7 separate regions of the Homo sapiens genome follow, and regions 1, 3, 4, 5, 6 and 7 are each linked to region 2. The links are contacts of gene promoters, found by promoter capture Hi-C in blood cells and fetal thymus (Javierre and others, 2016). All regions are on one chromosome and are shown on one strand. Each heading gives the region's core, a stretch centred on a gene start or on the middle of the fragment in contact. The rest is flanking DNA. Distances are from core to core; before and after follow the strand shown. Region 1 overlaps EFCAB7 (EF-hand calcium binding domain 7). Region 2 holds the start of UBE2U (ubiquitin conjugating enzyme E2 U). Region 3 has its middle 15 kb from the start of PGM1. Region 4 overlaps PGM1 (phosphoglucomutase 1). Region 5 overlaps PGM1 (phosphoglucomutase 1). Region 6 overlaps PGM1 (phosphoglucomutase 1). Region 7 overlaps PGM1 (phosphoglucomutase 1).

Region 1 (3,845 bases), core at 1-2,500, 650 kb before region 2:
AGGTCTACTTTATCAGATATATTTGAAGTAATTGATTTAGATGGAAATGGTCTTCTTAGCCTTGAAGAATATAATTTTTTTGAATTGAGAACAAGTGGTGAGAAATGTGATGAAGATGCTTGGGCTGTCTGCAGAGGTAAGCACTTTTCTTTTCCTTAACAGATGTATAAAAATATATATATAGCACCTTTTCATCTCTAAGAAATGAGAAGTCAAACTTCTGCATGAAATATTATTATAGCATTTAGGACAGTTTGAAAGTAGTATTGTTTGTAGATCATAAAAACTTAAACATTTATTTTTCTTAAACCGATAGTTGGTATAATACTCAAGTTAAAAGAAAGTGTGAATTACTTAATCATAATTTTAGTTTTGATTCTCTACTCTTCGGGGTTTAGAAGACAAAAAACTTGTCCTTGCGCTTGATACCACTGGGCCTGAAGTGGTCAAGAACCACAAACTGTGACCAGGAGAGGGCAGCAAAAAGCCAAAAAGCTAGAGTTTTACTCACAAATTAAGGTTTCCAGGAAGTTGCTTATATTATACATGTTAAACATTCTTCAGTGCTTTTCGTATTTGAGTTGAATTTAAAAAGTCCATTTATGGAAATATTGAAGCCAAAAATGCCAAGATGGACAAAGAAAATCACTGAGAATGAGGCAAAGTCAGTTATCACTTAGAAGGAGTCTGGGAAGACATACTTGCATATTTAAGCCAAAGACCCCAAGGTCGAGGGAAAACCAAAAAGCCATAGCCAACTATAGATCACAGAACAAGAGGTATGAGGAGACCAGAATTCAGTCAAGAGAGATTAACTCACGTATGCTTTCACTGGGATAGCTATATGTGGGTCTTAAAATGGTCTAAGCTTGGCAAAGTGAGCCAGGTTGGGAGTCTGTTTACCTAGACAGCAAGTAGGGTAGAGAAGTATATTATTTATATAAAGGAATCTTTCAGTATTTCTATTTTAGCTGAAAGTTAATATAATCAACAGCAATACATGTATATTGATTTATAATATTAAACTGTGATTAATAAAATTCATAATATACATAATAGAGTATTACCTATAGGAAGATGTAATTATCTTGTAACTTTAATGATATAATCTTTTAATTGGCACTAGAGAACATTCCATAAGAGTGAATTTGTGGCTTTCTGATGGTAAAGTTTGTGATAAGTAAAATTCTAATTTAAAATTTTAATTGAATTGGCAGAGTTGACGGTTAACATTTTTTGATAGCTTACCATCTACCATGTACCAGCTGCTGATCTATGCACTTCTACACACCAACTCTATGAAGTAGTACTTTATTATTCTCACTTTATAAATCAGGAAATAGAATTAGAGGTTAAGTAACCTGACCAAGGCTACACAGCAAGAAAGTTTCACAGATAGGCTCCAGAACTTTGAACTCAATGCTATCAAAAAGTCTCCAAGAGTTATTGACTTGAAAAATGATTTGGAGGAATGTCTACTTTACCAACATTAATAATATTGCAAAGAAATGAGAGCTTTTAAGGTTTTAATGTTTCCCCTGAATAATAAGAAAATGTACTGTTTATCTGTAAGATTATTTTAATAAACTTTTTTTACACTTAAAGATGCTTTATTTTTATTTTGTTTATTAATAAGCTTTATTTTGTTTATTTATTTATTTATTTTTTTGAGATGGAGTCTCACACTGTTGCCCAGGCTGGAGTGCAGTGGCGTGATCTCGGCTCACTGCAAGCACTGCCTCCTAATAAACTTTATTTTTAGAGCAATTTTAGGTTTACAGAAAAAACAGGCTGGGTGCTGTGGCTCATGCCTATAATCCTAGCACTCTGGAAGGCTAAGGCAGTAGGATTACTTGAGGCCAGGATTTCAAGACCAGCCTGGACAACAGAGCAAATTGTCTCTTAAAAAGAAAAAAAAAAAAAAATTGGCCTGTAATCCCAGCACTTTGGGAGGCTGAGGTGGGTGGATCACTTGAGGTCATTAATTCAAGACCAGCTTGGCCAACATGGTGAAACCCCACTTGTACTAAAAATACAAAAATTATCCAAGTGTGGTGGCAGGTACCTATAATCCCAGCTACTTGGGAGGCTGAGGCAGGAGAATCACTTGAGCTTGGGAGGTGGAGGTTGCAGTGAGCCAAAATCATGCTGCTGCACTCCAGCCTGGGTGACAGAGTGAGACTCTGTCTCAAAAAAAAAAAAAAAAAAAAAAAATAGAAATCTTCCATATATTCCTCCTCACCCACAAGTTTTCCCTATTATTAACATCTTGCATTTGTATGATACCTTTGTTACAATTGATGAGTGAATTATTGATACATAATCATTAACTAAAGTTCATAGTTTACATTAGGTTCAGTCTTTTTGTTTGTTTGTTTGAGTCACTGTTAGCCTAGGACGGAGTGTAGTGGTGCAATCTCAACTCACTGCAACCCCTGCCTCCAGGCTCAAGCGATCCTCTCACCTTAGCCTCCTGAGTAGCTAGGACTACAGGTGTGTGCCACCACACCTGGCTAATTTTTGTATTTTTTTGTTGAGATGAGTTTCACCATGTTGCCCAGGCTGGTCTCAAACCCCTGGAGGGTTCACTCTTGTCTTGTACAGTTCTATGGGTTTTGACAAATATGTAACATCATGTATCCACCATTACAATATCATTTACAAAGGACTATCCTTTCTCCATTGAATTGCCTTTGCTCCTTTGTCAAATATCAGTTGAATATATTTATGTCGGTCTATTTCTGGGCTCTCTATTCTGTTCCATTGATCTATTCATCATTATTTCACCATTACCACACTGTCTTGATTGCTGTGGCTTTATAGTAAGTCTTGGAGTCAAGTGTTAATAATTTTTTTTTTTTTGAGATGGAATCTTGCTCTGTTGCCTAGGCTGGAGGGCAGTGGCGTGATCTTGGCTCACTGCAAGCTTCACCTCCCGGGTTCACGCCATTCTGCCTCAGCCTCCCGAGTAGCTGGGACTACAGGTACCCGCCACCACGCCCGGCTAATTTTTTGTATTTTTAGTAGAGATGGGGTTTCACCATGTTAACCAGGATGGTCTCGATCTCCTGACCTCATGATCTGCCCGCCTCAGCCTCCCAAAGTGCTGGGATTACAGGCGTGAGCCACTGCGCCTGGCCCAAGTGTTAATTTTTTAAAAATTAATGAGGATTGAGAATTTTAAGTTTTAAAAAGTAGATTCGTTTTTGATAGTCTCTATAGTACAGTATCTAGATAGGTTTCTTAATGTATTTGTATTATATGTCAAATATTTTTTTCATCGTTTCTACATAGTAGCTCTAACCTCGATTTTTGTGGCTACCATTTCTCTTCATGATTGAATTTAATCTGCATTTATTTTTTCCCCTTGAAAAAGTTATGAATAACTTTAAACTCTTAACTTTTTTTTTTTTTTTTTTTTTTGAGACTGAGTCTCACTCTGTCACCCAGGCTGTAGTACAGTGGCACGATCTCAGCTCACTGCAACCTCCGCCTCCCAGGTTCAAGTGATTCTCTGCCTCAGCCTCCCAAGTGGCTGGGACTACAGGTGCATGCCAGCATGCCGGGCTAATTTTATTTTTTGTATTTTTAGTAGAGATGGGGTTTCACCATGTTGGCCAGGCTGGTCTTGAACTCCTGAGCTCAGGCTATCCACCTGCCTTGGCCTCCCAAAGTGCTGGGATTACAGGCGTGAGCCACCGTGCCCGGCTTCTAAATGTTTTAAGCTATTAATCAGTCAACCGGTTTTACACAGTTATGTCTCTGCTGCTTTTCTCACAATAATGCACACAAAAGAGATGCCATCTCAAATAAGACTACCCATTTCCCTTGGATATATTATAGAT
Region 2 (3,852 bases), core at 518-3,017:
AAATCGGATGGTTGCCGGGTCTGTGTGGATAGAAGTAGACATGGGAGACTTTTCATTTTGTTCTGTACTAAGAAAAATTCTTTTGCCTTGGGATCCTGTTGATCTGTGACCTTACCCCCAACCCTGTGCTCTCTGAAACATGTGCTGTGTCCACTCAGGGTTAAATGGATTAAGGGCGGTGCAAGATGTGCTTTGTTAAACAGATGCTTGAAGGCAGCATGCTCGTTAAGAGTCATCACCACTCCCTAATCTTAAGTACCCAGGGACACAAACACTGCGGAAGGCCACAGGGTCCTCTGCCTAGGAAAACCAGAGACCTTTGTTCACTTGTTTATCTGCTGACCTTCCCTCCACTATTGTCCTATGACCCTGCCAAATCCCCCTCTGCGAGAAACACCCAAGAATGATCAATAAAATAAATAAATAAATAAATAAATAAATAAATAAATCAGAGCATGACACTCTCCTGTTTAAACCCATTAAATGGATTCCCATAGCTATTCAAATAAAGCCCAAACTTCCTACTGTATAGTGCCCATCTTTATCACACCCCTCCCAGGCTCCTCCACAACCTCCCTGACCTTCCCTTGTTCCCTTTTCAAGACAAGCTCTTTCCTGACTCAAAAATATCTTGTTTTCCTCTTCCTAGAACTCTCTGCCCTCAATATTTCATGTAGCAGGCTCCTTCTCATCTTTCATGTATGAGTTCAAAACCCCATTCCTTACAGAGGCATTTCCTGACTACCATTTCTAATCCTTAATGACCTACCCCAATCTCTATCATGGTACTGTTTTATTATTGTCCACATAACGTTTATCACCATCTGAAATCATGATTTTTGTTTTGCATACTTGTTTATTGTATATTGGAGCCATAAAGACATTTACTTCATTTGAATCTTTCAAGTAAAAAAAAAGTATTTAATAAATATTTGTAAAATGAATGGACTAAATGAACATCCGGATTCTATAAAATTAGTAAGTAAAAAGTAAAAAAAGAAAGTATTCTGAACAAAGATGCCAGGCTTTGTAGTTGGCGCTGGCAATGGAACCGTGTCTTTCAGTAGTTCCCACTCTGGTGAAGACAATAGACAATTGTGATGCCGTATGGCAAATGTTAACTAGGAGGCAAATAGAAGGTCCTGTGGGATCACAAAAGAAAGGATCCCTTAAAGAGTCGTTAAAATCTGAAGGATGAGTGAGTGAAGGGGAAATGAGGGCTGAAGGGGTGGAAGGAATGTGGTAAACTCCTAGGTAGAAGGAACAGCAGGTGCGAAACTGTGCGGGAAGAGATGGGAATCAGAGAAATTTTAAGCAGTTCCCTGTTCCTGGAGCACTTTCCCAGGGTGATTGTAGGGTTTGATGACATAATAGCATGCACACTACTGTGAATGGTAACTCGCCATGTAAGTTAAGATATTGTTATGCAGACCTGTACCTACCAGTCACTTACTATATCTTTTGATAGTCAAAGAAAAAGGAAGGATAATTTCGAAGAAAGACTTCGTGGGACGGCTTCTGTGACTTACATGCTGGGTCCTGGGACCTCACCCCATCCTCTACACTAGTTTTGTACAGTCCATGTTCGTGGCCTGAGAAGGCGTGGTGTTGCCTTGACCACGAATCTCATTGGCCTTTCAAAGGGGAAACTGTTGTAGGATTGGCTGTGGAGATAGCAAGAGGCCTGCCCCCTGTCGCTGATTGGGTGAGAGCGGCCAACCCCCTGCCTCCGTCTCTCGGCGGCCCCACGGGGGCCTGTTGGTTGGCAACCGATTTGCTTCCTCCGGTGCGTGGCTGCGGGGTTGCACCTGTGAAGCGAAGACAACCTGCTAGGACCCTGATAGGCGTACACCTCTCACTCCCACTCACGCGCCGACGACATGGGCTTGTCTCCGTTACTCATCCAAGTTTGTCTTGAGACTGGGCTGTGAGCCGGCACTGCAGTGAAACGCCGCAGATGAGGAAGTGCCCAAGTCTTCCTTCGGGAAGTTCTCGTTTAGAGGAGTCAGGAGAAAAAGTCATTGTTATATCCCAACTTTAGAAGCCGCTTATCTTGGTACCGTTCTGAGGTTCTAGAAAGCAAGTAACTTATATCAGTTTACTAAGTGTGGGAAAGTGACCCATAACTTCAAACATCTGCCTCAGAGTAAACCTGAGGCATTTGGGGACAAGTGTCAGACCCTCCGCTGCCTATCATGCACGGCAGAGCTTACCTCTTGCTGCACAGAGACTTCTGTGATCTCAAGGAGAACAATTATAAGGTAAGTACTGGGCACGTGGAGAGATGTGTTTCATTGTGCAATAATTTTTAAGAGGCAGTTTAACCCATTTTATTCTATAAGTAGTAATTTAGTTAAACCTGATTTGCCACTACAGTATTGTTATTTAATAAATCCATTTCACTGAAGTAATGTGTTTCATATTAATAACAATTATTATTACTTCAAAATAATAATGCTTAACAATATTGAACATATTATGCAGAGTAATTTATGTGGATCTAGGCACTGAATATCAGGGTCTGTCATGTAGTTAGTGACTAGTAGGTGCAGGCTTATGCTCATTAATTATAATACTATACAATAAGTAGTATTTCATTTTACTTACCAAAAACCTAAGCCTCAGAAATATTCTGTAAAGATTTTGCCCCATGATTCCATTACAGGGTTTTTGGACTTCAAAGCCCTAGTTCTTAATTCCTGTGTTCCACTGCTTACTGTCTAGTGTACTTTTACCAGCATGACACATAAATGCCTTCCCTTTATAGTTTTAACACAAAAGAAGCAATGTCCTTGGGCTTAAACGCCACCAATGAGGTTATCAATGTCCATGGCTGCCACAGGCTGATTTACGGAAAATGAAAAATGGAAGAGGGGGCGAAGAGGGAGTGCTTAAGAGAAAGAACAGAAAGAAAGCTGTCCATGAAAGGTATAGAGTGCTTCCCACAGTTGCTTCAGGTGTAGTTCAGTGGCATTGTTCATTTTTTACCTCTGCTATAAAAGTACTGCATTCACTGGAGATGTTAGGAACAATTATGGAGTCCAACAGCGAACATTCCTGGGGCATGGACCTAACATTTGATATTGTTTCTGCTCATCCTGAGCTCTGTAGTTCTCTGTTGAAAGAGAATCCAATGAAGGAATATGTAAATATAGATAATAGAGAGACAGGGCTCACCCAGACAAGCACTAACATACTTAATAACTATGTGGATGCTCAGAAGTGTTTTTATGTGTTTGTAAGTGTGTTACTTAACGTAATTCATAAGGTTTTCTATGAAATACATTCTTGTCCCTCCATTGGAACAACTCCTCAAGTATAGGAAAACTTTGCTTTTATATACAAGTGTAATTTTGGATTTTTTCTTAATGAAAATGTTCCCACTTCATGCCTTTCATATAGCATTCATATAGCTCTAAAATGTTTTGAAGAAACATGCACTTTCCAACTATTTCTTTCTTTTAAAATTTGAATATTAAATTGGTTATTGATTTACACAAACAGTATATAAGCCACACATTCTAATCTTGACTCTCTAGTCCCACTTGTGATTTCCACACTTATGATTTATTTTTAATTACTATTGCATATGTTTTCTGGGATCTATATTAACTTCCGTGAAATAAGACATGTAACACTTCCCCAGAGCAGCAAATAAATAAACTTATCAAGGAAAGAAAATTTAGAGTTTTTAGAATTCAGTGTGACCTGGTATATGATTTTCAAAACTTCAATAAATACTTAATAAGTTTTTTCTGATTTAATTTTGTTTTTAACTTCAAGGGTATCACTGCTAAGCCTGTAAGTGAAGATATGATGGAATGGGAAGTTGAAATTGAAGGTCTACAGAAT
Region 3 (3,819 bases), core at 476-2,975, 630 kb before region 2:
GGCTCACGCCTGTAATCCCAGCACTTTGGGAGGCTGAGGTGGGTGGATCACCTGAGGTCAGGAGTTCGAGACCAGCCTGGCCAACCTGGTGAAAGCCCCGTCTCTACTAAAAATAAAATTAAAAAAAAAAAAATTAGCTGGGCGTGGTGGCGGGCATCTGTAATAATCCCAGCTACTCGGGAGGCTGAGGCAGGAGAATCACTTGAACCCGGGAGGCAGAGTTTGCAGTGAGCTGAGATCACCCCACTGCACTCCAGCCTGGGTGACAGAGAGAGACTCTGTCTCAAATAAATAAATAAATAATAATAAGTGCTCTTGGCCGGGTGCTGTGTCTCATGCCTGTAATCCCAGCATTTTGAGAGGCCGAGGCAGGCGGATCACAAAATCAGGAGTTCGAACCAGCCTGGCCAATATGGTGAAACCCCATCTGTACTAAAAATACAAAAATCAGCCAGGTGTGGTGGTGTGCATCTGTAGTTCCAGCTACTTGGGAGGCTAAGGCAGGAGAATCGTTTGAACCCAGGAGGCTGAGGTTGCAGTGAGCTGAGATCTGCCACTGACTCCAGCCTGGGTGACAGAGTAAGACTCAAAAAAAAAAGAGTACTTTTTTTTTTTCACCCAATACATTTCTAAAAATATATATGAATATTTAACAAAAAAGACTTACATATGATAAAGGAGTTGGAGTATGGTTCCATTTCTCAAAAATTAAATATTTTTCAACTTCTTTTAGACACAGTTGATAAATATTCAACATTTAATACATATTCTTAATTGTATTCTTACCTTTCCAATTGAATACAAGAGTAAGCAAGTTAAATTCAAGGCCAGCTTAAGTTCAGTTATCTGATTCAGGCTAATGTCAGCATGTTATGAAAATGAAATCGTTCCAGAATGCCAGTATTGTAAGCTTTCTGGCAATTTCTGATATAGTATGCGGAATTACTAAAAAGTAAATTTCTCTCTGCCTTTTTAAATATCCATTACAAAAGTATCCAGAATTGGCTTTTGAAAAAAAAGTTTTTTCTTAGTAGAGAAGTAAAAATAGGAGTAGACTAGGCTAGGGAATAGTACACAGGGACATCCAATTAGCATGTATCTATTACATATTAATTAGTTAAAATAAATAAGTAGTAGGTGTCATCTCTGTCCTCAGGACAAGAAAGCTAAGGAAATGAGTTACATGTTAACCTGTTAGGGAATAATATTAAATCTTAATAAATGCCAGTCATTAAGCATTAAACTAATGATGTGAATATGGAAACAGAAGAGGAGGGGAAGGCTTGACCAATTTAGAGGATGTAGATGAAAGTAGATGAAAATCTGTTGGAGGACTGAAGGAATGAAGTTTAGTTTGAAGCTAAGTAGTGCTTTGATTTGTTTTTACTCATGTAATATAATGTATTTTAAAATTTAAATAATATAAAAAGAGGACACATTTTAATAACTATTAAAGGAAATGAGGCATAGTCTTTAAAATACTAAGTAGTACTACACTAAAATGTTAGATTAAGTTTGACAGTGTTAGAGCAAGTTTGGACAAGTTGGAAAAATGAATGTGGGCTGGAAGAATCAGGGGAACCTGATTCTGTAACTGAACTTTAAGTGACCTTGAAGAGATAGGAGGGATTTAGAAAGAGGAGAGGAAATGAAAATTTAAGGTATTTTCTAATGTTTTTCACTTTTCCTAGAATGTTATTGTATCTTTGCCTATTAATATCATAAGCAATAGATCAATCATATATAAATTGAGTCCCTAATGTGTGCAAAGTACTGCTTTAATTATTGCTTATATAGAGGTGAACAAGCCAGACATTGCTCCTGCCCTCATTATATATAGTCTGTCAGAGAAGATAGATTGTGAACAAGTATTACAGGCTGTACCTCTAACATACATTTTTTTTTTTTTTTGAGACAGTCTCGCTCTGTCATCCAGGCTGGAGTGCAGTGGCGCAATCTCAGCTCACTGCAAGCTCCGCCTCCCGGGTTAACACTGTTCTCCTGCCTCAGCCTCCCGAGTAGCTGGGACTACAGGCGCCCACCACCACGCCCGGCTAATTTTTTGTACTTTTAGTAGAGATGGGGTTTTACCGTGTTAGCCAGGACGGTCTCGATTTCCTGACCTCGTGATCTGCCCGCCTCGGCCTCCCAAAGTGCTGGGATTACAGGCGTGAGCCACTGCGCCCGGCCTCACAAGCAATAGATCAATCATATATAAATTGAGTCCCTAATGTGTGCAAAGTACTGCTTTAATTATTGCTTATATAGAGGTGAACAAGCCAGACGCTGCTCCTGCCCTCATTATACATAGTCTATCAGAGAAGACAGATTGTGAACAAGTATTACAGTCTGTACCTGTAACATACATTTTTTAAATACCTCATCCTTCATGAAACCTTTAATTTTTTTCTCAGCCCAGAAGAAACTGTTCTACTTCTTGAACTTCTATTTTAAAACGAGTACTTTTTTCCTGTGGGGTTTTTATTTCAGATAAAAAAAAAATCATACAGTAAATTTGACCCTTTTTTGGTGGGTTGGGGGGAAGCTTTCACAGTTCTATTAATGTAACACATGTATAGATTCATATAACCACCACCACAATCAGGATACAGAGCAGTCCCATCACTAAAAAACTCCCTCACGTTATTTCTTATAGTCACATCCCCATGACCTTACCCCTGTGCATACTCCTATCCCCTGGAAACCACTATTCTATTCTCATCACTATAGTTTTGTTTTTGAGAATGTTGTATAAGTGGAATCATGCAGTATGTAACCTTTTGAGACTGAATCCTTTTATTCAGCATAATGCCTTTGACAATCATCCAAATTGTATGTATCAATAGTTCCCTTTATTGCTGAGTAGTATTTTATTATATGATTGTATTACAGTTTATGCATTCATCTGCTGGGTGGTTTCCAGTTTTTGGTAACTATTAATAGAACTGCTATAAAGTTCATCTACAGATTTTTACATGAACATAAGTTTTTATTCCTCTATAGTAGATACCCACAGGTAGTACTGCTGGATCATATGGTAAATATATGTTTGACTTTTTAAGAAACCGCCAAAGTGTTTTCCAGATTGGCTGTACCATTTTGCACTTCCAGCAGCAATGTAGGAGAATTCCAGTTATTCTGCAACCTTATCAGTACTCGGTATTGTCTGCGTTTTTTATTTTAGCCATTATAATAGATGTGCAGTGGTATCTCATTGTGATTTTAGTTTGTATTTCCCTAATGGCTAATGATGTTGAACAACTTTTCATAGGCTTGTCATCTGCATACATAGTATACTTTTTGATGGTGTGCTTCTTCAAGCCTTTTGCCCATTTGAAATTAGGTTATTTGTTTTCTTACTGTTGAGTTTTGAGTTTCATTTTCTTACCATTTGATTCTTTATAAATTCTGGATATGCCTTTTATTGGATATGTTATTTGAAAGTATTTTCTTCTCTTCTGTAGATAGTCTTTTTGTTCTCTTAACTGGATCGTATAGAGAGTGAAAGTTTTACATTTTGATGAAGTCCAATTAATCAGTTTTTCATTTAATGGATTATGCATTTGGTGTCAAGTTAGAAGTCGTTGTCTAACCCCAGGTCACAAAGATTTTTCTTCTGCTTTCTTCTAAAAGTTGTATAGTTTTACTTCATACATTTATATGTGTGATGCATTTTGAGTTAATTTTTGTATGAGTTCTGAGGTTTAGGTTGAGGTCCATTTTTTTTCATATGGATGTCAGTTATTCCAATATCATCGGTTGAAAAGATTATCCTTTCTCCATTAAATTGCTCTTGTACCTTTGTTGAAAAATTCACTG
Region 4 (3,649 bases), core at 723-3,222, 570 kb before region 2:
AGCTACCTTGCTTCTATCTCTCAACTTTCCTTCTTACTCTTACCCCTGGCATAATCCCCTCAGCCTGGAACCATTGCAAATCTCACCATAAGGAATGGTAGAATTAAGGGGTGACATGGGTGGTGTAGCTTAATATCACCAGCCTCTCCTTCCACACCAAATACAATCTATATAAAAATTGGTATGCTTGGTGTGTAAATACAACTCGACAAGCCACCCCTAAACCCCTCCTATGGACATTCTGGAACTGCCCGAACATAGGCTTTTATTCTCATCACAACCACACCTGGAAACTGCTGGAAGGTGAAATGTCACTGTGTTGAGTCAGGACGTTTCAATACTTTCCCCCACCATGGCCGCTAATGTGCTGTGTGGCCTTGTCGTGTCATCTACGCCAGTGTCTGCCATAGTACCTTTCCATTAATGCTTGTTATTATTGCTGCTGGATGGAGGCAAGAATGAATGAATGGGCAGGATCATGATAACTCTGGACCTCAGCTTCTTCATGTTTGCAGTGGTACTTGGGAAGAGCAAATGTGGGAATGGATCAAAAGTACCATGGGATGTAGAAAGCACTCTGTAGCTCAGTAACAATCATCGGTTTTGATTTCACACTATCTGCAGGTTCCTGTAGTCTAAAAAGCAGCCTACTGACAGCATCCACCCTGGTGGTTACCATTTCCTGGGGAAGGCAGGATATAACCAATATATTAGGGGAGCTACAACAAAAATTGTTCGGAGATTGACATATGAGAGCCAAGAGGTAACTGAAGGGAACCAGGTGCTCCTTGGGAGGTGGTTGGTAGTGGAGTGGTTGACGGTTTTCAATGGGCTATGGAAGGGTGGCAGAGCCAACAGTCCCAGAGAAACTCTCCCCAGGGAATCCAGGTATCTCACGGACATTTTCAACACTAGAAACACATCTTCCACCATCAAGTTGTTTCTTCAATCATGTTTATCTTGGGTGAAGCAAAAAGAAATAACAAATGGAAAATGTAAAAAAATCCCTGTTTTTTAAGAGGAACTGACAGCACCTCAACCTTCTTTTCCAACTTGAGTCATGTTGAAACAGATATAAATTACTGTCATTTTAGCAAAAAAGATTTAGGAGCAGTACTGATACCATCTGTAAGAGATATGGGAAGGTAAGTTAAGAATGCAACAGAAGTCCCATCTGTCGCCCTTTCATGTAGGTCATTCTGACTGGTTTACTCAGGAATAACTCCAGCATTCTTGTCTTAGGCCCAGGAGGTAACCCAGGTACACTGTAACAGAAGTAGGTGTGTCTTGCTTTGAGGAAACCCACTATATGAAAAAGCCAAGCTTGACTGGAAAGATAAATTGATGAGTCATTTTTCAATAATCTTGATATAAAATTTGCCCTTTTTACTTTAAAAAAGCCTTCTCTTTGGGTAGAATCCCTTTAATTAGCTAAACCTTTTCTTTTCTCCCGTTGTGGATTGAAAGTATGATTGAATTGGATAAAAATGTGGGTTTTCTCATATTCTTTCAATGCATCCAAATTGTGGCCCCGATCTGGAAAGGCTCTTTTTAATATGCTGTGTTTTCATGCTGGAGCCTTACAGTGCACACAGACCACACACTTCTAAAACTACAAAGTCCCGAAAACCATCTGAAGGAATTTGTTCAACATTGCTGATTCTATTTCAGTAATATGGTGGAGACATCCAAGCTGCAGATTTTTATTAAATAAAATCTTTTCTTGTCCAACAGATTATTACTATTATTTTTTTGTCCATCTGCCTGTTGTCTTGGTGTTGTTTCTGAGCGGTGACTCTGGATGTATTGATGTTAAAGAGTGTGTTCTGGATTTCTTCTCCTAGATCGGTCGCTTGGTTATCGGACAGAATGGAATCCTCTCCACCCCTGCTGTATCCTGCATCATTAGAAAAATCAAAGCCATTGGTGGGATCATTCTGACAGCCAGTCACAACCCAGGGGGCCCCAATGGAGATTTTGGAATCAAATTCAATATTTCTAATGGAGGTGAGTTTGCTGTCATTTTGAGGACAGGTAAGTTTACATTCAGTAGGACAAATCAATACCTGGAGCCTTGGGAGACCAGGGTTTTGGTTCTGATCCTTTGCAGGGGGTAGGGAGGTGCTCTTTGCTTCCTTTCAGTGACAGTGAAATGCTTCTCATTTGACTGTACCTGAATATGAAGAGCCATGCGCAAATCTTCCTTAACATGATATTTTCTTTTAGAAAAATCCTGCTACTTTGCTGACTGAATGATGAAATGGTAGATGTGCTAGTGAAGAGGAACTGATGAGCTTTGGATTCTTTGTATTTCCATGTGAGCTGCACGAAGTAACCCACTGTTTGCTGTTTGGTTTCCAGGTCCTGCTCCAGAAGCAATAACTGATAAAATTTTCCAAATCAGCAAGACAATTGAAGAATATGCAGTTTGCCCTGACCTGAAAGTAGACCTTGGTGTTCTGGGAAAGCAGCAGTTTGACTTGGAAAATAAGTTCAAACCCTTCACAGGCATGTTTACTTTCCTCCTCTTTCTGCCCACTCCTATTTCCAAGTTGAGCGATTTTCCTTTCAACGTTTTAGTAGAGGGTCTTCAGCTTTGGAAAGATTTCCGTGAGTGCTCTGTAAGCTTTGCAAGTGTTAGTTAATTAACAAGTCTGGAATTAGGTTTGGGAGACCAGAGACCTGGGCTCCCTGGGCCCTGCCAGGGATCAGCTGCATGACATCGAGTAAGTCATTTCCAGCACTCTAGGCCTCAGTTTTCATGCCTTGACTAGAAGACCTGCAGGATTACATTCATAGTTAACTTTTATTGACCTCTTGCTACATGCCAAGGTCTTTACACGTGTTAATCCATTTTATTCTCACAGTAGATCTGTCAGGGCAGCACTGTCAGCATTCACTATTATAGATGAGGAAACAAAGGCTGAGAGAGATTAAGTAACAGGCTCAAGGTCACAGTCAGTGAATGGCAAAACGAAGATTTCAACTCAGGTTTGAATGATTCGCAAGACTACACTTTCCATTTTAGTTTTCCTCATTCAGTAAAATCAATCAGACTATTTTGGGGGGACCAAATTGCAACTCCCTACATAGGCAGCTGTGGCTAACATTTTGTTGTTGAATTATTGTAATAATTGACAGAATAAATATTTATAAAAGTATTCAGATTAATAAAATGAGGATGAGATGATTGGCAATGAACTTGCATTTTGACTTTGCCCTAACATGTTTTCTTTCTTCTGGATTGCAACTTTATGGAATGCATTTTATTAGTCATTTAGTTCCTGGCTAAAGGATGGATTGCATTTTTTTGTTTGAACCTACTCAGGGAGAGCTGACAATTGCATCCTAACAAAGATAAAGTGACACTTTGGTCATCTCGAAGACATTCTTGAGGTTCAGAAGATTCCAGTAGGGAGTTTCTTAAATTCTTCATATTTTGAAAATGTTCAGAACCCCTGAATATCCAGCAGTTTTGAAAATGTTCAGAAGCCTTGAACATCCAACAAGAACAACAATACTAAGTTCTTATATTTATATAAGTTTTATTTTTGTTTTATTCCTTAAGCAGTACCTGTGAAAAGTGATTCATTAAAAAATTTCATTTTCCACTTAGTACCATTAAGTCTTGATGACAATGGACTTGGAA
Region 5 (3,756 bases), core at 13-2,512, 610 kb before region 2:
AACGCATCCCCTGAAATGGATATTTTTATTCATTTTAATAGTACTTTATTTATCTTATTTTGTTGACATTGAGTACTATTTGCCAAGCACTATGGTAAGCGCTTCATTTCTGGGTCTCATTTATCCTCCTGCAGCCCTATAAGGTAGATGCTATTATGGGTATCTTCAAGTTGCCAACGAGGACGCTGAAGCTTAGGTAGGTTAAATAATTTACAAAAACTATAATGGCAGCACTAAGAGTCCAATATAGATCTGCCAATCCCAAGAACTTGAACAGCTCCTGAGAATGAAGAATGAACAGCCCTTGATCTTGAAGATCTGTTTTCCAGGCTCCAAAATCTAAACTGGGCTCTATCTACATCTGCCTTCCTGGGCCAAACATTTATAAGCATCAGTGAGAGAAGATTGCCTGGATTTGTTTACTTTGTGGTCCTGAATTTTCAGACAAGCGCAAATTCCCATGAAAGAAGAACAGACAATAGCTGTATCCCAGTAGATCATTTCCCTGTTACCACCTGTGCTGAATTTGCATTTCATTCATTCATTCATTTATTCAGTCAGTCATTCAACAGATCCTGTTGAATACCATGTTCAGAGAAATGTGTGGACTAAAAGGATGATGCAGACCCAAGAGTTGTCCTTAAGGAGCTTACAGCAGAGTGGGAATTTTAGGTGCCCAGATGGAAATTTGTCCATTTGGGAGTAGTGTGGGGTGGGAAGGAAAGAATTAGTTAAGACTAAAAAAAAAAGTTCTTAAAACTTCATCACCCTTTAGCCATTGCCCTATTGCTCTTCTCTCAGCCAACCTTTGTAAAAGCTTTCTGCATTCACTATTTCTCATTCTCACCTCCGGTTTACTCGCCATTTCACTGCTTCTGCCCCCTCCACTACTCCAGTAGAATTGCTCTTGCCAAAGTTACTAGGGACTTGCCAGTTGCTAAATTCATGGAATACACTCTGGTCTAATCTTATTTGGCCTTTCTGCTGCATTTGGCAGTGCTGATTTTGTACTCTTGTAAAGTTCTTCCTCCCTTGGCCTTGCTTACTCTCCTGATTCTACTCACACTTTTTGGAAGTTCCTTCATGGGCTGCACATTGACTATCCCCTAGGTTTCTTTCTTCTTTCTTTCTTTCTTTTTTCTTCTTCTTTTTTTTTTTTTTTTTTTTTTGAGACGGAGTCTTACTCTGTCGCCTAGGCTGGAGTGCAGTGGCGCAATCAGCTCACTGCAACCTCTGCCTCCCAGGTTCAAGCAATTCGCCTGCCTTAGCCTCCTGAGTAGCTGGGATGACAGGCATGCACCACCACACCTGGCTAATTTTTATATTTTTAGTAGAGATGAGGTTTCACCATCTTGGCCAGGCTGGTCTCGAACTTCTGATCTCAGGTGATCCACCCTCCTCGGCCTCCCAAGGTGCTGGGATTACAGGCGTGAGCCACTGCGCCTGGCCTATTCCCTAGGTTTCTACGCTCAGGTTGTTCTCTGATTTTGTTCACTCTCTCTACTCACTCGGGATTTAAATATGCTACTCTTTCTCTTGTGATATGATTCAGTCCAGATGGCATCTTCAGAAACCTTTCTTGACACCCCATCCCTACCACTCTTCTCCACCTATTAAGTGCTCCTTTCCCATAGATAATTCTAGAATATATATATTAAATTCTAGTGAAATTTTCCGTTTACATGTCAACGGCCTCCAACTAGAGAGTAAGCTTCTTTAAGTCAGACCTGTGTTTTACCTGTATCTGCAATGCCTAGGACTATGTAGCATTCAATGAATTCTTGTTTATTTGCTCTGAACTGTGAGTCACTTTTGTATTCTAGCACTTGATTTAAAGCCAGCATGTAGCTGGTGACCAATAAATTTATTCACATCAAACATTTATTATGTGCTTGCTTTGCCTCAGACATTGTACTTGAGATACAAAATATTTTTGCCCTTGGGAAAGACATAGTCTGGGAGGGGTGGTATACAGGAGTAAGCAGACAGCACAATGTGTCAGGTGTTGTGATGGAGGGATGTGCAGGTGTCTTTAACCTGAGGGGCTGTACTTGGGAGGGGAAGATGAAGGGAGGGAGGCTCCATAGAGGGGTGGTAGCCGAATTGAGTCTTAAAGAATGACTTGGAGTTCCCAGAGTGGGTTTGTCTGGTAGGAGGAATTCTTAGCAGAATGAATACAAATTGAGGGAGTTTAGATTAGATACAAATACAAATTTCTAGTCCTTTTTTGTTTCATCCACAAAGGTTGGGAATAATACATACCTGAAGAGCCTGTTGTGAGGATTAGATGAAACAACATATTTACAAGTACCTCACTTGGAAACTGTTCGAATGATAGGTGTGTTATCAATGTTTTGTTGGTATTAGGACACAATCCAACGTGATGCAGATATGAGCCACCCAGATGGTCTCCCACCTTCCTCTAATCCTCAACAGCCTCAACCAATATAGAGGGGTTCCGTGTTAGTCAGAGCCCAATTGGGTACAAATGACAAAAACCTTACTTGGATTACTCCAAGTGAAAAAGGAATTTTATTGGCCCATGTTACTGAAAAGTCCAAGAGAATCCCAACGAATTCTTTAGTTGAAACTATTCCTGGTCTCTAAAAATCACTTCTGGGTCTAATGATCTGCAAATGACCAGCATCAGAAATTGAGGAGAGTTTAAGCTCACAAATGAATGTGTGCATGTTTTGAAGGATGATTTATCACCACCCTAAGCAAAATAAAATAAATACCTTTGTGGGAACTTATGAGCAAGGAGGGTATTTGTTGTTGTTGTTGTTGTCAAGTTACAGGGATTCTTTTGTCACGGCTCCTTTGCTACTCATTTGTGCAAACTGTGGAGCCCCTTCTCAGAATATATATTTTTAAAAATTTGAGACATGGTCTTACTCTGTTGCCCAGACTGCAGCACAGTAGCGCGATCGTGGCTTACTGCAGCCTCAGTCTCCCCAGGTTCAGTTGATTCTCCCACCTCAGCCTCCTAAGTAGCTGGGGTCTACAGGTGCATGCCACCATGCCTGGCTAATTGTTTTATATTTTTTGTAGAGATGGGGTTTCACCAAGTTGCCCAGGCTGATCTCGAACTCATGGGCTCAAGCGATCTGCCTGCCTCGGCCTTGCCTCCCAAAGTGCTGGGATTACAAGTGTGAGCCATCGTGCCGGGCAGAGTATTTTTATTTTTAAGTGAATAAAACAAAATACAAACCATTACAAAGGAAGCAAAATTATATTGAAGTATAATCAAAATATTAAAAAACCAGATTTGTGATATATCAAGATAATGCTTCTTTACTGACATAGGAAGATTTGTGGAGGATTTAATACTGCCTTACTTCAAAGTAGTGGTGAGTATAAATGATGTTTTGAGACGTCTGCAATCTCAGTATTTTGAGATAACTATAATAGGATATGAAAATATAATTTTTATTGATGATAAATTCCTAGGTAGTAGTAGTAATAGTAGCAGTAGTAGTAATAATACTGTGGTTTGCTTCCTACATTTATAATAAAAGGAGGTGCTAAATTTCAGTTAGATGTTAGTGAAAATAAAGATTGTTTTGTTTATTTTGTCATTCATATTCATGGATCCCATTGAATTCTACCCAAGGACCTCTTGAGGTAGGGGAAGGGGATGTAAGCATCCCAAGTTAAGAACCCCACACTAAACAATGATCCTTTTTTAGCATCAGGTGATGCCTGCACCAAAATGGACCTCAAACACATGACCCAGAGGTTAAGGGTCTCATGTTC
Region 6 (3,499 bases), core at 976-3,475, 540 kb before region 2:
TTGTGTTGTAGGCATCCCTAAAACTTCAACCAAAGGCAATGGGGTCTGCATTATAGACACTTAATAGCACAAGAGAAAAGGAAGAAGGAAATTGTGTTTGTCTTTTGATCATCAAGATAAATGCCTGGCACGTGGTAGATTCAAAGAGTGAATGAAATTTGTTTCCTCTGAACCATAGTCCTCAGCAGGTGGAATGGCAGTGGATGGTGTGAGGTTCCCACAATGCCCAGGTGTATCACCATCTAGCCGGGGAGCTGCCTTTCCTTATTCTGCAGCTGCTAGGCCATCAGCACTTTGTGGGGACTGCCCAAGCCCTAAGGGGAAATGTGGTAGTTTCAGCAGGTGGAGTTGATTCTCCTTTTCCAGGTATAATGGATCGGTGGAGATTTAGATAAGAAAAAGTAGCATTCAGCAGTAGAAAATGTACTACTCCTGGCTCTGCTATTGAGTCATTTAGTCAAATCACTTCATCTCTTTGGGTATCAGTTTTCTCATCTGTAAAATGGGCAGTTCAACCAGATTAGTAGTTTTTTTTTTTTTTTAATATTGAAAGCATTTATTAAGCAACAGAATTCTCTCTTTTTTTTTTTTTTCTTTAAGCGAGAAGTAGATGTGGGGAGGGGTTGTTGCATTTTTAAAGATTCCTGTATTAGGCCGGGTGCGGTGGCTCACGCCTGTAATCCCAACACTTTGGGAGGCCAAGGCAGGCAGATCACCTGAGGTCGGGAGTTCAAGACCAGCCTGACCAACATGGAGAAACCCCATCTCTACTAAAAATACAAAATTAGCCGGGCGTGGTGGCGCATGCCTGTAATCCCAGTCACTAGAGAGGCTGAGGCAGGAGAATTGCTTGAACCTGGGAGCCAGAGATTGTGGTGAGCCAAGATCGCAGCATTGCACTCCAGCCTGGGCAACAAGAGTGAAACTCCATCTCAAAAAAAAAAAAAAAAGATTCCTGTATTAGTCTGTTTTCACACTGCTGATAAAGACATACCTGAGACTGGGCAATTTACAAAAGAAAGAGGTTTAATTGGACTTACACTTCACGTGGCTGGGGAAGCCTCACAATCATGGTGGAAGGCAAGAAAGAGCAAGTCATGTCTTACATGAATGGCAGCAGGCAAAAGAGAGAAATTGTGCAGGGAAACTCCTGTTTTTAAAACCATTAGATCTCATGAGACCCATTCACTATCATGAGAACAGCACAGAAAAGACCCACCCCCATGATTCAATCATCTCCCACCGGGTCCCTCCCACAACACTTGGGAATTATGGGAGCTACAAGATGAGATTTGAGTGGGGACACAGAGCCAAACCACATCAGTCCCATTGGGAACAGTGTGGGAAAGAAATTGGAAGATGCACAAGTGGATGTGGAGGCACTCACTGCTCCAGGTAAGAGACAGGACATTGACTTAGCAAGACTTAACAGCAGGAGAGTGGAGAGAAAAGGGGGCCATGGAGAGAGATTTAGCGGGGAAAAGTCATTGAGGCCTGCTCATGGACTGGGCATGGGGAAAATGCAGAGGAAGATGTCAGGAGCAACTCCTAGTTGTTCACTTTACATGAAAGACTGTAGTGTTGATCCACTGAAATAGAAACTGCTGGAACTAGGTATTGGGGGAAATAACATGTGTTTGTTTTTGGATTTGTGGAGTTTGAGGAGCCTTGGAGACCTGGAAGTAGGCAGTCAGACGTACGGGTTTGGAGCTAAGCATCTGTGTTTAGAGGAAGTGATGGAAAAGCTTCTCTCTATGTCTTCCTCAGGTCATGTTGGCCCCCCTTATTTCCATTGCTCTGAAAGTGTCCCAGCTGCAGGAGAGGACGGGACGCACTGCACCCACTGTCATCACCTAAGAAGACAGGCCTGATGTGGTACGTCCCTCCACCCCCGGACCCATCCAAGTCATCTGATTGAAGAGCATGACAGAAACAAAATGTATTCACCAAGCATTTTAGGATTTGACTTTTTCACTAACCAGTTGACGAGCAGTGCATTTACAAGGCACTGCCAAACAAGATGCCCTTGGGAGCTGTGAGGGAAAGAGGACCTGCGGGCTTAGATCAATCTCAATTCCTTTTCATGCCCTCCTGCATTGCTGCTGCGTGGGTATTTGTCTCCTTAGCCATCAGGTACAGTTTACACTACAATGTAAGCTATAGGTGGAGCATCAGCAGTGAGTGAGGCCATTCTTCATCCTTAGGATGTGGCAATGAAATGATGGTGCAAGTTCCTTTCTCTTTTGTGAATCTTTCCCCCCATTTCCTGTTTACATGTAACCCAACAAAATGCAATTTCTAGTGCCTTCTGTCCAATCAGTTCTTTCCTCTGAGTGAGACGTACTTGGCTACAGATTTCTGCCTTGTTTTGCGACATTGTCCCATTCACACAGATATTTTGGGATAATAAAGGAAAATAAGCTACAATTGCTTGTCGTCTTTTTTTCTTAACTGCAAAGTACTTTTTTGATTTTAGAAAGAAAAACAATTTTTTTTTTAGAAGGAGGGGAGTATTGTATTTTGTTTTCATGTCCTAGTCAGAAAATGAAATGGTCTCTAGGCTAGGTTGCAAATCCTTAGACTCAAGAACTGTAATTTTTTTTATTGTCCTGAATATTCTAAAAAGTAACATAAATTTTAAGAGAATTGTAATTTAAAATCTTAGCAGGGTCAACTGAGCTCTGGATTCTTCCAAGGTAGACAAATCAAGCTTGACATGGTTAACTTGGAACAAGGGAAAGGAAGAGTGATTTTCCTCTTCCTAGTGCTTAAATAGCAAAGCACTGGTACGTGCTCTGCAGTGCGGAGATGCCTTGACGCTTATTGAAGGGATGGAGGCAGAACCCTCAGAATCTGAGAGCAGGGTTACTGACATTTGGCCAAAAATCTGAGCCCACTGGCATCTTATTCAGCTCAGAACACTTATATTCCATCCATGAGTATATTATAGTTAAATAAGCGTAGACTTGAGAGCCAACAGACCCAAGTTTGAATCCCACTTGAGACCCTGAGTGACTTTTGAATATCATTACCCTATCCTTAAAGTGGGGATGAAAGTAGTTCTACCTTTATGAATTGTTGAGTACCTTAAGTGAGTACATTTGTGTAAAGCAGTGAGCACAGTATCTAGTGCATGGTACATTGTTAAATAAGTGAAAACTAGAATTATGTTTATGATACCATTTTTAGATTTTAAAGTACTGTATATACAGGAAAAACAAAAACTGTAACACTAATATTTGTAACACATTTTACATTTCCAAGGTACTTTCACAAAGTCACCTTGCCATATGGGCTATTCTAAAAAGTCAGCCCAGCTCTGTACCCCTCCCCTACTCAGTATGGACTCCCTGATACAGGTGGCAGGATCTTTATCTGGGGTAAGATTTCCATTGTTGCCAGCTCAGCAAACAAAACTATGCTTTGACAATGATGACAATGATGGTGGTGGTGGTGATGAGTTTGTCTGGAACGTTAACCCCTTGCCAGGCACTTTCCA
Region 7 (3,618 bases), core at 1,093-3,592, 590 kb before region 2:
CAAATTGCTTGAGCTGCTTCTTTACTCATTTGTGAAATTAATATGTTGGGGGTTTTGATGGGAAATACAGACACTTTAAACTTCTTGCAAAAGGTTTCCCGGCCATTACCCCCTCATTTTAACTTCTCTTCTTCCCAGATTTGCCAATGACCTGTCAAGATGCTCTACACCTATTAGCTTATAAATTTCAGAACAGAAATATCTTTCTTACAGAGAGTGTTTCATGCACAGAGCCTGGGGGGAGGGAGAACTGTTCTGTATAACTTTAGGTTTTCAGTAATATGTCGTCAGCCTGATACTTAAGTTTTCTCAAAAGAACACAGCAGCCAGCCCCAAAGTAAGCAAAATTGATCCTGAGTAGCTTAAGTACTGGTTACGGTGTTTGGTGTTTGTATGCCAGGTCTACCCCTTATGGTTTTAGGATAGTGGTTCTGGTGAATAGTTGATTAGGTCCACTTGCTCCAGAAATCTCCGTGAATAAGATTTGATGGGGTGCTTTCCATCCCTGAAACATTTACTGAATGTTTTCTTATTGCTTAATACAGTGCTGTGTATTTGGGGCATGCAGTAGTGCATAAAACGGTCTCCGCAAGTGGGCATTGCAATATAGTGTGAGAAGTGCCTCGTTAGGGTGTATTGGGGGCCCTAGGGAGGGGAACACGCAGGGGTGGTCAGAGGAAGCTTCCCAGGGGAGATGTGTTTAAGCCAAGTCCTGAAGGATGATAAAGAGGAAGCCAGGAAAAAGTGTAGACATGGGGGTATGAAGAAGACATTCTGTGTAGTGGGAGCAGCCCTTGCAAAACAAGGAGATCCTTGTAGAAAGTAAAAGCACAGCCTTAGACTGTAAAGTAGGACTCATCCTAACTCCAGCATTGCAGGAAGGGAAGAGGGAGGCCGCCGGTGACTCAGCTGCCTTAACCCCTGAGGTCACACAGGTCCTTAACCCCTGAGGCTTTCTTTTATACACAGGCCAACATAAGACCCAGTCTGGGAATTATCCTAAGGCCCAGCCTGGGAATTCTCTTATGGCCCTGAGGGAAGGGAGGATTTTGGAGACAGGATCAAAAACCTAAAAAGCTATCTGTAGGCCGGGCGCAGTGGCTCTCACCTGTAATCCCAGCACTTTGGGAGGCCAAGGCAGGCAGATCACAAGGTCAAGAGATCAAGACCATCCTGGGCAACATGGTGAAACCCTGTCTTTACTAAAAATACAAAAATTAGCTGGGTGTGGTGGCACATGCCTGTAGTCCCAGCTATTCGGGAGGCTGAGGCAGGAGAATCGCTTGAACCAGGGGAGGTGGAGGTTGCAGTGAGCCGAGATTGCACCACTGCACTCCAACCTGGCAACAGAGCGAGACTCCTTCTCAGAAAATGCTATTTGTAAGGAGGATTGGGTTGAAGTATTTGCCCAGTAACATATTAAGGCTATCAGGAGCTGGACGTGGTGGCTCACGCCTGGCCTGTAATCCTAGCACTTTGGGAAGCCAAGGTGGGTGGATCACTTTAGGTCAGAAGTTCGAGACCAGCCTGGCCAACATGGTGAAGCCCCATCTCTACTAAAAATACAAAAATTAGCCGGGCATGGTGGCGCGTGCCTGTAATCCCAGCTACTTGGGAGGCTGAGGCAGGAGAATCGTTTGAACCTGGGAGGCAGAGGTTGCAGTGAGCCGAGATCACACCATTGCACTCCAGCCTGGGGAACAAGAGCGAAACTCTGTCTCAAAAAAAAAAAGGCTCTATCAGTTTGCTCTGACTCTCTTTCTTTAACCAGCAGGTTACGTGACACGTGACACCATCTGCATGTGACCTACTGTCTTCACTGGGACAGGCCTTCTAACTTGGGTCAACTGGCCTGAACCCATACGTAGAATGATTGATATATAGTTCACTAAGTTAAATTATACATTTATAGACGCAAAAAAAATTTTGACATACAGTGTGGTTGTGTTGTATCCTACTGCTCTAATATTAGGAAAGGGGCTGGGATGCTAGGTCAGCTGGGACCCTCTTTTTCTCGCTTGCATTCATCTCTTTTTCTCTCTTACTCTCACCACTTTTCTACCTCATGTTGAGTAGCGCCATGAAGACCCCTCCTTCATCACTCTGCCTGCAGTTATCCTGGGAAGCAATTATAAGCTTTCAGCCTCAACCATGCAGACTAACTGGCTCTACTTCCTTCACTATTGCAGTTTCTAGTTCTGTTCGTAATTGTTGCACAAGACTTTGTGCTATTGCAACTACTTGGAATGCCAGTTCCAGGCAGAGTGCCCTCTGTTGTAGACACCTTGTGCTTTGGGAAGTTGTCTGTGATTAGGGGAGTAATTTTCTATTTGAGGTTGGTCTCAGGAAGGGAAACCACTCCTGACTCCTGCCTGAAAACTCGCCTCCTTGCTCAGAAACACTAATTACAGGGGTCGTTTGATGCTCTCACTTAAATATTTTAGTCACTCACACATTTATTGACTATCTGTATGTGCCCAACCCCATTCCAGGTACTGAGGTTAAAAATGAGTGAGATGCAGTCTCTCCATACCACAGAGCAAAGGAGGAAGCTTGTTTGTGTATATGGAGCATGGCCCATGCAGGGTTACTTAATGCTAGAAACCAAACACTCTGAGGCAAAGAAAAGGTGTAGGGGGTTGGGGGGCAGGGTAGAGGAATAGTCTACCCAGACTGCCTGTCACTCAGACCAGCCACTCTGCTGCAAAAGGAGTTGGCTTATCTTTTTTTTTTTTTTTTTTTTTTAAGCACTTAGCAGTTTCCTAGGGCTGCTATCTGCTGTAACAAACTGTGTGGCTTAAAACAATGGATATTTATTCTCTTGCACTTCTGGCAGCTTAGAAGTCTGAAATCGAGGTGACAGCAGGACCATGCTCCCTCTGAAGGCTCTAGGGGAGACTCTTTCCTTGCCTCTTCCTAGCTTCTGGTGGTGGCTAGCAATCCCTGGTGCAGTGTAACTTCAATCTCTACCTCTGTCTTCACGTGGCATTCTTCCCTATGTATCTCTTCTGTCTCTGTCTCCAAATTTCCCTCTCCTAAATCCTGTCATTGAATTTAGGGCCACCCTAATCCAGTATGCTCTCATTGTAACTTGATTACATCTGCAAAGACCCTATTTCCAAATAAGGTCACATCCCCAGGTTCCTGGGTTAAGACTTCAATGTATCTTTTTTTTTTTTTTTTTTTGGAGGGGGCGGGAGTAGTGCACCATTCAACCATGACATCTATACTCTGTCCACCAAATGCAGGTGGGTTTTGTACAGACACCAAAGCACATATACTTTGCACTTGGGCAGTAGCCCTTTGGGAGTCACTTGGGATCTATTTCCTCTTAATTTTCTTCAAGTTTAAACAAATTTGATCATCCAAAGGAGCCATACATAGCCCAATGATGAGAAACGTGAGCTTTGGCTTTAAAACTGGTGTTGAAGCCTGCCTTTCCAATTTATTGTGAGTCCTGGAGCAACTCGTGTAACTTCTTTAATCCTCAGTTTCCTTATCAGTAAAATGGGAATAGTGAGAATACCTACACCACTGAGTTGTTATTAAGCCTGCATGAAAACCTACATGTAATGATATTCACTGTGCTGAGCACTTTACATGATCTCATATAGTCTT

What was found. Contacts are between HindIII fragments. The CHiCAGO score rates a contact against its expected background, and 5 or more counts as called.
Region 1: a contact is called between a fragment that was not itself captured here and the fragment with the promoter of UBE2U in region 2, in 1 of 17 cell types (M1 macrophages). The highest score is 5.9, in M1 macrophages.
Region 3: a fragment that was not itself captured here is called in contact with the fragment with the promoter of UBE2U in region 2 in 2 of 17 cell types (M0 macrophages and fetal thymus); the score reaches 8.1 in M0 macrophages.
Region 4: a fragment that was not itself captured here is called in contact with the fragment with the promoter of UBE2U in region 2 in 9 of 17 cell types (M1 macrophages, megakaryocytes, M0 macrophages and 6 more); the score reaches 7.7 in M1 macrophages.
Region 5: a fragment that was not itself captured here is called in contact with the fragment with the promoter of UBE2U in region 2 in 1 of 17 cell types (M0 macrophages); the score reaches 5.6 in M0 macrophages.
Region 6: a fragment that was not itself captured here is called in contact with the fragment with the promoter of UBE2U in region 2 in 4 of 17 cell types (M0 macrophages, M1 macrophages, total CD8 T cells and 1 more); the score reaches 5.8 in M0 macrophages.
Region 7: a fragment that was not itself captured here is called in contact with the fragment with the promoter of UBE2U in region 2 in 7 of 17 cell types (endothelial precursors, M2 macrophages, fetal thymus and 4 more); the score reaches 8.5 in endothelial precursors.

What each region holds. Positions count from the first base shown.
Region 1 is chr1:63,557,112-63,560,956 of GRCh38, forward strand. EFCAB7 (EF-hand calcium binding domain 7) reads left to right here. Exons shown (of 14, transcript NM_032437.4): 10 at 3-136. Among named protein-coding and RNA genes, the nearest start is that of PGM1, 34 kb to the right of the region's middle. The HindIII fragment of the contact is 768 bases long and covers 867-1,634 here.
Region 2 is chr1:64,201,856-64,205,707 of GRCh38, forward strand. It overlaps UBE2U (ubiquitin conjugating enzyme E2 U), which reads left to right and starts at 1,768. Exons shown (of 10, transcript NM_001366232.2): 1 at 1,768-2,261; 2 at 3,784-3,852. The coding sequence starts at 2,196. The HindIII fragment of the contact is 16,836 bases long and covers 1-3,852 here.
Region 3 is chr1:63,576,551-63,580,369 of GRCh38, forward strand. It overlaps a transcript of EFCAB7 not described here. Among named protein-coding and RNA genes, the nearest start is that of PGM1, 15 kb to the right of the region's middle. The HindIII fragment of the contact is 1,635 bases long and covers 909-2,543 here.
Region 4 is chr1:63,627,581-63,631,229 of GRCh38, forward strand. It overlaps PGM1 (phosphoglucomutase 1), which reads left to right. Exons shown (of 11, transcript NM_002633.3): 2 at 1,845-2,007; 3 at 2,362-2,508. Among named protein-coding and RNA genes, the nearest start is that of PGM1, 36 kb to the left of the region's middle. The HindIII fragment of the contact is 1,303 bases long and covers 1,322-2,624 here.
Region 5 is chr1:63,595,108-63,598,863 of GRCh38, forward strand. All of the region lies in intron 1 of PGM1 (phosphoglucomutase 1), which reads left to right. Among named protein-coding and RNA genes, the nearest start is that of PGM1, 3.6 kb to the left of the region's middle. The HindIII fragment of the contact is 894 bases long and covers 816-1,709 here.
Region 6 is chr1:63,657,819-63,661,317 of GRCh38, forward strand. PGM1 (phosphoglucomutase 1) reads left to right here. Exons shown (of 11, transcript NM_002633.3): 11 at 1,768-2,427. The coding sequence ends at 1,857. Among named protein-coding and RNA genes, the nearest start is that of PGM1, 66 kb to the left of the region's middle. The HindIII fragment of the contact is 965 bases long and covers 1,744-2,708 here.
Region 7 is chr1:63,610,537-63,614,154 of GRCh38, forward strand. The region is part of intron 1 of PGM1 (phosphoglucomutase 1); the gene reads left to right. Among named protein-coding and RNA genes, the nearest start is that of PGM1, 19 kb to the left of the region's middle. The HindIII fragment of the contact is 416 bases long and covers 2,135-2,550 here.